3 separate regions of the Homo sapiens genome follow, and regions 1 and 2 are each linked to region 3. Evidence: promoter capture Hi-C in 16 types of primary human blood cells and fetal thymus (Javierre and others, 2016). All regions are on one chromosome and are shown on one strand. The core of a region is centred on a gene start or on the middle of the fragment in contact, and the rest is flanking DNA. Distances in the headings are between cores, read along the strand shown.

Region 1 (2,843 bases), core at 297-2,796, 200 kb before region 3:
TCTTGTTGCTTAGCTAATTTTTCTCTGAAGAGTGTTTCACTCTCCACATCCCACTACCTCCCTAAGCCACTTTCTCTGGGGACCTCACACTCTTGGAGTCATGCTCAGAAGCCCTGATTTTACCCCAGTCCCATCCATGCTGAGCCCTGCTGGTTATGCCAGGCTCCTCTGGGTTGTCTTTGGGCCTCCCCAACGTGTGCAGGGCCCAGACCAGAGCCAGCCAGGGAGGGGAGGCCTGCAAAGCAAGGTGGATCCTGTCTGGATTTTAAATTTTGAGTTTTATTTGTCGTTCATGGATGTTGGCATTAATTTTGAACTTTTAAAATATTGCATGAAAATATTACTTACCCTGATGACTGAGTTTGCTAGCATAGCGACACCTTAAATTGTGCAACTTTTCTCAGTCCAGTCTCTGCCAGTGGGTCCATCCTCCCCTGCCCCACAGTGAGCTGCAAAGGCAATGAGGGTTGAGGGGAGTGAGTGTGCTATGCAGGGACCCAGCACAGAAGGGGATGTTTAAATGGAACCGGGGTCTCCATCGTGTCCTGTCCCCAGCACTCCTGTCACCAGGGTTAGGTTATTGCCTGTCCCTTTTCCTTCTGGGGCTATCCCCTCACCCAGGAAGACCCTGTCTATGTGTCTGGACAACTCAGCTTCACCAGGGCCGACTCTTCCATCAGGCAAGGCAAGGGCAGGGATCCAGGCCCACAATATACATAGGGGTGTATGAAAATGTTATAATTTAAAGAATAATTTCCTGAAGTGATTGTAATATTAATGAACATATACCAATGAATCTAGCCTGAATTCTATACTTCGTCTTACCAATACAGTTGTAAAGTATGTTTAAAATGTTCTTATGAAGAAGTGGCCTATGAAGGCAATGTAATACCTGTGACCTACAAAAGCCATGCAACAGATGATAAAATATTGCTGTTTTATTTGGACTCAGAGACCTATCCTCAAACCCTCAATCTTCTGGCCAAAGTTTAGGTCAAATAAGGATGTGATGTGTCAACTTGTAATTCAATATGTAAATGACAAAAATCTAGTTTCTCAAGAAGAGCTGGACTATATTCTTTTTTAGAGACAGAGACCTATTCTCCTTTTTCCCTGAAAGACAATTAGGAAAAAACTCAATCAAAAACCCCAAAATAAAGAGTCAGAAAAGCCAGTTCTCATGCCTAAAGACTCCAGCACATGGGATCCCCTAGACCATCTTCCCCTGCTGAATGCTCTTAACCCTTCCCCTCAGACAGCCCTTCTGTCCCAGATCCTGCCCCAGATCCCTCCCTTGCTCACATTATTCCTCCTCCTTACAATCCAGATTCCTGGGAATCATCATCCCATGAGCCTATTTCTTCTCAGCCCATGTAGCCTATTTCTTCTCAGCCCATGTATCCTTCCCTAAAAAGACTCCAGCATTAGAAAAAACAATATAAAAAGGATATTCAAAATTTCCCATTTCCCTCCACACCTAAGGAGTCAGCCCCAACTCTCTTCCCCTTAAAAGAGGTGCCACAAGGAGATGGAACTACTGACTTTGTAAATACTCCCTTAACCAGTTTGGAGGTCTAAAGTTTGAAGAAGAAACTTAAGCCATTGTTATATGACACTTACAGAGTGACAGATCAGGTTGATCAGTTTTTGAGACCTCGGTTACACACTTGGGTCGAGTTAATGTCCATCCTAGACATCCTCTTTTCAGGGAAGGAAAAAAACATGATCCCTAGGGCTGCTATGGCAATTTAAAAATGTAAATATCCTCCCGGTCAAACATTCCTAATGCAGATCGAAAGTTTTCCACCCAAGACCCCCGGGGTAGGGAAAAGAAAGAGATCAGACTGTTACTGTGTCTATGCAGAAAGGGAAGACATAAGAAACTCCATTTTGACCTGTACCCTGAACAATTGCTTTGCCCTGAGATGCTGTTAATCTGTAATTTTCCCCAACCTTGAGCTCACAAAAACATGTGTTGTATGGAATCAAGGTTTAAGGGATCTAGGGCTGTGCAGGATGTGCCTTGTTAACAAAATGTTTACAGGCAGTATGGTTGGTAGAAGTCATCACCATTCTCCAGTCTTGATAAACCAGGGGCACAATGCACTGTGGAAAGCCACAGGGACCTCTGTCCTGGAAAGCCAGGTATATCCAAGGTTTCTCCCCATGTGATAGTCTGAAATATGGCCTCGTGGGATGGCAAAGACCTGACTGTCCCCCAGCCCGACACCCGGGAAGGGTCTGTTCTGAGGAGGATTAGTAAAAGAGGAAAGCCTTTGCAGTTGAGATAGAGAAAGGCCACTGTCTCCTGCCCCTGGAACTGAATGTCTCAGTATAAAACCCGATTGTACATTTGTTCAATTCTGAGATAGGAGAAAAAGGGAAAAACTGCCCTGTGGCGGGAGGTGAGACATGTTGGCAGCAATGCTGCTTTATTATTCTTTACTCCACTGAGATGTTCGGGTGGAGAGAAACATAAATCTGGCCTACGTGCACATCCAGGCATAGTACCTTCCCTTGAACTTACTTGTAACACAGATTCCTTGCTCATATGTTTTCTTGCTGACCTTCTCCCCACTATCACCCTGCTCTCCTACCACATTCCTCTTGCTGAGATAGTGAAAATGGTAATCAATAAATAATGAGGGAACTCAGAGAACGGTGCTGGTGCAGGTCCTCCGTATGCTGAGTGCCGGTCCCCTGGGCCCACTGTTCTTTCTCTATACTTTGTCTCCGTGTCTTATTTCTTTTCTCAGTCTCTCATCCCACCTACGAGAAATACCCACAGGTGTGGAGGGGTTGGCCCCCTTCAGCCCGGTAAGACAATAATAGCACAGCTCACA
Region 2 (2,757 bases), core at 32-2,531, 230 kb after region 3:
CGAGATCATCCTCACCAACATAGTGAAACCCCGTCTCTACTAAAAATACAAAAAAATAGCCAGGCGTGGTGGCGGGTGCCTGTAGTCCCAGCTACTCGGGAGGCTGAGGCAGGAGAATGGCGTGAACCCAGGAGGCGGAGCTTGCAGTGAGCCGAGATCTCGCCACTGCACTCCAGCCTGGGCAACAGAGCGAGACTCTGTCTCTCAAAAAAAAAAAAAAAAGACGTACAGTGAGTTAAATACCCTCTGGGGCCCTATTTGCACAGTCTGTAAAATTGGTTCGGAAAGATGCCAATGGAGATAGGATTCCTAAAGCATCTTTCAGATATGACCTGTTGGAGGGCCCTAAGGAATTCACGGCGGCCTTGACCACCCCAAGAGAGGTGTTCATAGGCCAAAGTCAGGAATAAGCTGCAGGGCAAGTTGCACGCATTTATTGTTTCAGATCACAGGCTCCGAGGGAACTGAGTTTATGATCCACGCTTTCTTCATCGCTTTGGAGAGTACACGCCTACCCCACCCCAGTATATCCGTTAGGTCCTAGTAAACATTTGTGGCACTGGTGATATGTTTCGAATCTTTTTTTTTCCCCAGTAATATAAACCCGAGAGCGTGGACCAAGCCATTCGATTACATGTTGTGTTTGAGCAACACCATCCACGCCGTGAGCTTACTGGACCCTGGGCCGTGCCCAGCGACCGTGGACACTGAACTAAGCCAGAGCTGGTGCTCACGTGAAGACAAGGGCAGAGGAGGATTCGGAGCTCTACAGGGTAGAGCCAGAAGGGTAGTACAGGCTTAACTGCTGGCCCGGTGCTTCCAGCTCAGCCGAGGGGCCGCGGGGCCGCAGGCTGCATTCCCCGAGGCCAGGCCGCATCTTTTCCCCCGCCCCGACGACCCCGCGCACTGCAGGAAGGGGGCGGCGACGTTGACCGCCGCAAGCAGCCAAAGGAGGGCGGCGGCTGAGAGCGGCCAAGACCAAGAAAGACGCACAGCTGTGGCTTTACTAAACCGCCGGGCGGGAGCCCGGAGCCCCACAGGCAAGGCCCCCAGCGTCGCTCGGATCTACCACGGGGAGACCGGAGGCGTCTGAGGCCGCCTCCAGAGGAACAAAGGTTCCTCACGAGGCCGGGGGTGGCAGAGTGTCAAGAGACACACAGGAAGGAGTGGAATGGGACTTGGGGGATCTGGGGGCGTCCCGGGCGCGCCCCCAGATTCCGGGCTCCTCACCGCCTCCTACGCGCCGCCACTGCCGCTACCGCCGCCATCTTGTGCAGAGTTTGCTCCTTGACCCCAAACCTCCCGCCCCATCGCGCGCGCTCAGCCACGTATCCTAGTTCCCGCCCCTTCCGGCCTTATGATTGGTTCGACCTGAGCGCCGCCGGGCAGCTGTCTCATTGGTAGAGTGCGCACTCCAAATTATCGCAGGGGGCGGGGCTTCAGGCCAGGGGCGGGAACGTCCAGAGCCAGGCGCTGTCAGACTTTGCACGCTCTCAGCATGACAGAAGCACTGGACTGGTTTTCTCAAGTTGGCAAATTTTATTTAGAAAAAAAAAAGTGGGAGAGAAAAAAGTGACAGCGCTCTTTAGACCAAGGACTTAGAAGAGAAACCTCCACCCTTCCGGAGCACGTTAGTCCCTTCCCTCTCTCACTGCTCAACCTCCCTGGGCTTCCAGAGCAAGAAAAGGCTACGTCCCCTGTCGAAGGAGAGTGGACGGTGAAGGTGCCTGGAAACGGCCAGAGAAAAGACCTAGGCGGTCGATGTTGCGGTGGAGGACACTGTGCAGCACAGCCAGATGGGGTCCACCCTCACCTCCACCCTCCCTGGAGAAGTCCCGAATGAAGCGACCCCGCTCTGATTGGAAGATGAACTTCTGAGGCAAGGGCCCATGCTCCCGGAGAAAACCCCAGACACTGAGCAGCAGCAGACGCACCTCGAAAGGTGCCAGTTGGCTAAATACTTCATGCATATTACCCAGGGCCGGAGGCAGGAGGCTTCCCTCAGCCATGACAGCCACTAAGGTGCAGGATGCCTCCAGGTGCCAGGGGGAGTGGGTCGTGTCAGGGTGGCGAGAGGCTTCCCAATGGCCCAAGAGGGCGGCCAGCAGCCCCCGAAGCAGCACGGAACAGTAGCACAGGGCTGGGGGTGCAGCTGCTACCAGCTTTAACAGCTCAAAGAGCAGGGGCTGTTCGCGGAAGCGCCGGCCAATGCGGAGATCCCGCTCCACGGTGGCCCGGGCGTGTTCCTCGGGGGGCCAGGCCAGCTCTGCACCAGCTGCATCGGGACACACACTCTCCACCAAGGTCACTGCCACTGCTTTGGCTGCCTCTGGACTCAAGATGGGTGCCCCCCAGCATTCCCCACATTCAGTGCCCCCTGGGGCACTGCAGCAGTGAACCAGGAGGCTGAGGAGGCTCTGGGTGTTATAGATCACTTCCTGCTGATTTCGTGACTGGACAAACTTGGGTGGCTTTAAGCCACGGCCGATGACTCCAGCATGGAAAACTGACCAAATCCCTCCAGGACCTGGCACAGCTGCAGTGTGCCTCCGGTTAGTGTCCAACAGGGAGGCAGAAGCCAAAGAAGCTGAAACAACTGAGAGAGTCTCATTGTCCCCATCTACTTGCCCACCAAACAGTTCTGTGTTGCCTCGATGTAAGGCTCCTTCAACCAGCAGCTGCAGGACAGCCTTGAGCCCAGCTGGGGATGTCTGAGACAGGCGGGTGAGAAGCTGACAGGCTGAGGCCACACCTGGG
Region 3 (2,784 bases), core at 25-2,524:
ATTTGGCGAAGTGGACAAGGCAGGAAATGTGTATTCAGGCATGAGGCTTAGCTTGTGCATAGGTAGAAAGGCATGAAAAAACATGGAACATTCTCGAATCCACAAATAGTAAGAGAGGGCTAAGTCGTTGTGTGGGGGAGAGGAGAAATGAAGTTCAAATGGTAGGCAAAGGTCAGTGGGCAAGGGCCTTGTAAATTGCACTTGAATTTTATTCTTTAGGCAAAAGGAAGAGTTTAAGGGTTTCAAGAAGAAGGACACGACCAGTGGGTTTTAGGAAGATCATTCTGATGGCCTTTCAGAGGATGGCTGAGGAGAGCTAGCAGGGAGGCAGGGAGGTCGAGTCAGGGGATTTTGACCAGGCCAGGTTAGGTGCTATGAGGCCCGGGCTTTGGAGAAGAACCAGGAAATGGCAACTGGAGGCAAGAAAGGGGAGAAGGCCAAAGCCTGGGAACCATCAACACTTAAGAACAGTAAAGAATAAACATCTAAAGAGAACAAGAAGGAATGGCCAGAAGAAGGAAAACAGGAAAGAACTGAGGCGTGGGAGCGCAAGAGAGAGAATGGTTCGAGAAGGAAGCAGTCACAGGTGTCAAGGCCATTGGGAGGTCAAGTGAGATAAGGACTGAAGGTCCCACCAATTGGGCCATCAGGAGCACAGGACTTGAGAGCACTTCTGGGTGGGAACAGACCCAGCCTGGGGCAGGGCTCAGGTTTCTGATGGGAATTCTGGAAGGGTCCCTTTTATTCAACATGCTTCAATCCAGGGGCCCCCGAAGTCTGACCACAGCAATGCTCCAAACCATGTGTCTTTCCTGGCTTAAGGTTCAGTCGCCCTCCTCAGAGGGGAGCCTATGAAAGAGCCCAGTGGAGTGTCAGGGTCCTGAGTCCTAGTCCTAGTCCTGTCCCTGCCACTTGTGAGGGAACTTGGGCCTCAGTTTCTCCAGGTGGGCTCCACAATTGCTTCTCTTGATCTGGACTGCCCCAGTGCCCAGGTTCAGTGAGTGACACAGGCAGCTGGGTTTCCACATCCTCTGACTTGGGTTCCCTTCACTGCCTCCAGGCAGGGCTCGGCCCTCCACCCCCAAGTGGCCCATTGTGTGAGCTCAGTTTCAGTGGGGACAGAAACTGGGTTGAGAAAAGGGAATATTTACCTATCCCACCAAGCCAATGCCAAGTAAATAGTGCAGTATCTTATGTAGAGCCCTTGCCCTGCCCTTCCCCATCTGGGTGCTGCTGCCTAGAGCATATAAAAGGCACCTTGCTGGGCATGTCTCATACTAGCCCACCAGACTCAGAGACGGAACCAGAGACGGGCCAGAGCATCCCCCTCCTCCACCATGAAACTCGCTGTCACCCTCACCCTGGTCACACTGGCTCTCTGCTGCAGCTCCGGTGAGTGCTCAGAGACCCTTCCCTCCCTCCTGGACTTAGGAACTCTCAGGACCCCCCAGTTCTGCTCAGAAGAAGGAGTGAGCTGCCCATTCCTGCTCTGGAGCTGCTGGGAGGACCTGGGCATGCTGAGTCTCAGAAAACTGGGTCTGGTGAGCAAGCTCATCTTGGAAACTTGGAGAGAGCCCCAGGCTGTAAGGAAGCCTAAAAAGGGTCCCATCTTCTATATCCAACAACCCTCAGAATCCCAGGGAATGGAATAGCCTGGAGGGAGGAGTGGAGAATACCCCATAAAGATGAGTACATCCAGCATAGGAATAATGAGGCCCTCATCCCAGATCTGGACAGACTCCAAGATGCTGAGACCTTGGTGCAGCCTCCAAGTCTGGGGTCTCCACTCCATGCTGGCAGCTGAAGTCACTGGAAGGGGAGCTGCAGGGACTCGTGACCCCAAAAGAAACCCAACCCAAGACAAGGTCTCTCATTCTGGGCACAGAGGAATATTCCAGAAAGAGAGCTTCCCTTTGGGGAACTGCCAACCCAGAGTGAAGTTTTCTAAACATTTCCGTCCTCTGCAAAAGGGATTAGGAGTCTCTGAGTAGTTGCTGCTGTCACTAAAAGGAAAAGAACTGTGGGGGGAAGAGGGGCAGAAAGAGAGACGGAGAGAGGGGGAGAAAGGAAGGAAAGAAGGATCACAGCTCTCTCCAAGATCCCCCGTCTTTGGGGAACTGGGTTATCTAACTCTGTTTTTCACTCTGCGTCAGCCTCTTCCATTCTCATCTGAAAATGCTGTTGTTATTTTTTAATAAACAAACTCCAATTAATTCACTTGGAAAGCTTCACAACACCCATGGAGATAAGTTTTATGACCCTGGGGAGTTAGAAAACCCAAACCAAGAAGCAGTAGGAACAACTATTTTGCAGAGAGGTTTATTTGTTTTTCAGAGAAAATGACATCATTTTGGACTGAAATGTGTATTAATTAGAAGATCTCAGTGCTGTCTGCGTACAGAGGTGGGTGGCTGAGCAAGATAGGACTGCAACATGTTAAGGGGTGGGTCAGAGATGCATTTGTCTATTTGTGTGCACATGCATACAATATTTAACACTTACTTCACACAATGTGCCAATCACTGTCACCCTTTCACATAATATCTCTTTTCATTCTTTTTTTTTTTTTTTTTTGAGACAGAGTCTCGCTCTGTTGCCAGGCTGGAGTGCAGTGGCGCGATCTCAGCTCACTGCAACCTCCGCCTCCCGGGTTCAAGCGATTCTCCTGCCTCAGCCTCCCAAGTAGGTGGGATTACAGGCACGCACCACTGCACCCAGCTAATTTTTGTATTTTTAGTAGAGACAGGGTTTCACCATGTTGGCCAGGATGGTCTCCATCTCTTG

Evidence for each region. The method cuts DNA at HindIII sites, captures the fragments that hold promoters and counts their contacts. A CHiCAGO score of 5 or more calls a contact.
Region 1: a fragment that was not itself captured here is called in contact with the fragment with the promoter of SCGB1A1 in region 3 in 1 of 17 cell types (M0 macrophages); the score reaches 5.0 in M0 macrophages.
Region 2: the fragment with the promoter of GANAB here is called in contact with the fragment with the promoter of SCGB1A1 in region 3 in 3 of 17 cell types (monocytes, erythroblasts and M2 macrophages); the score reaches 5.8 in monocytes.

The regions. Positions count from the first base shown.
Region 1 is chr11:62,214,128-62,216,970 of GRCh38, forward strand. No RefSeq gene overlaps it. Among named protein-coding and RNA genes, the nearest start is that of SCGB2A1, 6.9 kb to the left of the region's middle. The HindIII fragment of the contact is 3,405 bases long and covers 1-2,843 here.
Region 2 is chr11:62,645,332-62,648,088 of GRCh38, forward strand. GANAB (glucosidase II alpha subunit) reads right to left here and starts at 1,282. Exons shown (of 24, transcript NM_198334.3): 1 at 1,231-1,282. The coding sequence starts at 1,268. It overlaps INTS5 (integrator complex subunit 5), which reads right to left. Exons shown (of 2, transcript NM_030628.2): 2 at 1,517-2,757. The coding sequence ends at 1,689. RefSeq lists enhancers at 1-288, 604-763 and a silencer at 1,374-1,453. The HindIII fragment of the contact is 15,573 bases long and covers 1-2,757 here.
Region 3 is chr11:62,417,759-62,420,542 of GRCh38, forward strand. SCGB1A1 (secretoglobin family 1A member 1) reads left to right here and starts at 1,275. Exons shown (of 3, transcript NM_003357.5): 1 at 1,275-1,392. The coding sequence starts at 1,338. All of the region lies in intron 1 of LOC102723765 (a long non-coding RNA gene), which reads right to left. RefSeq lists a silencer at 299-593. The HindIII fragment of the contact is 29,364 bases long and covers 1-2,224 here.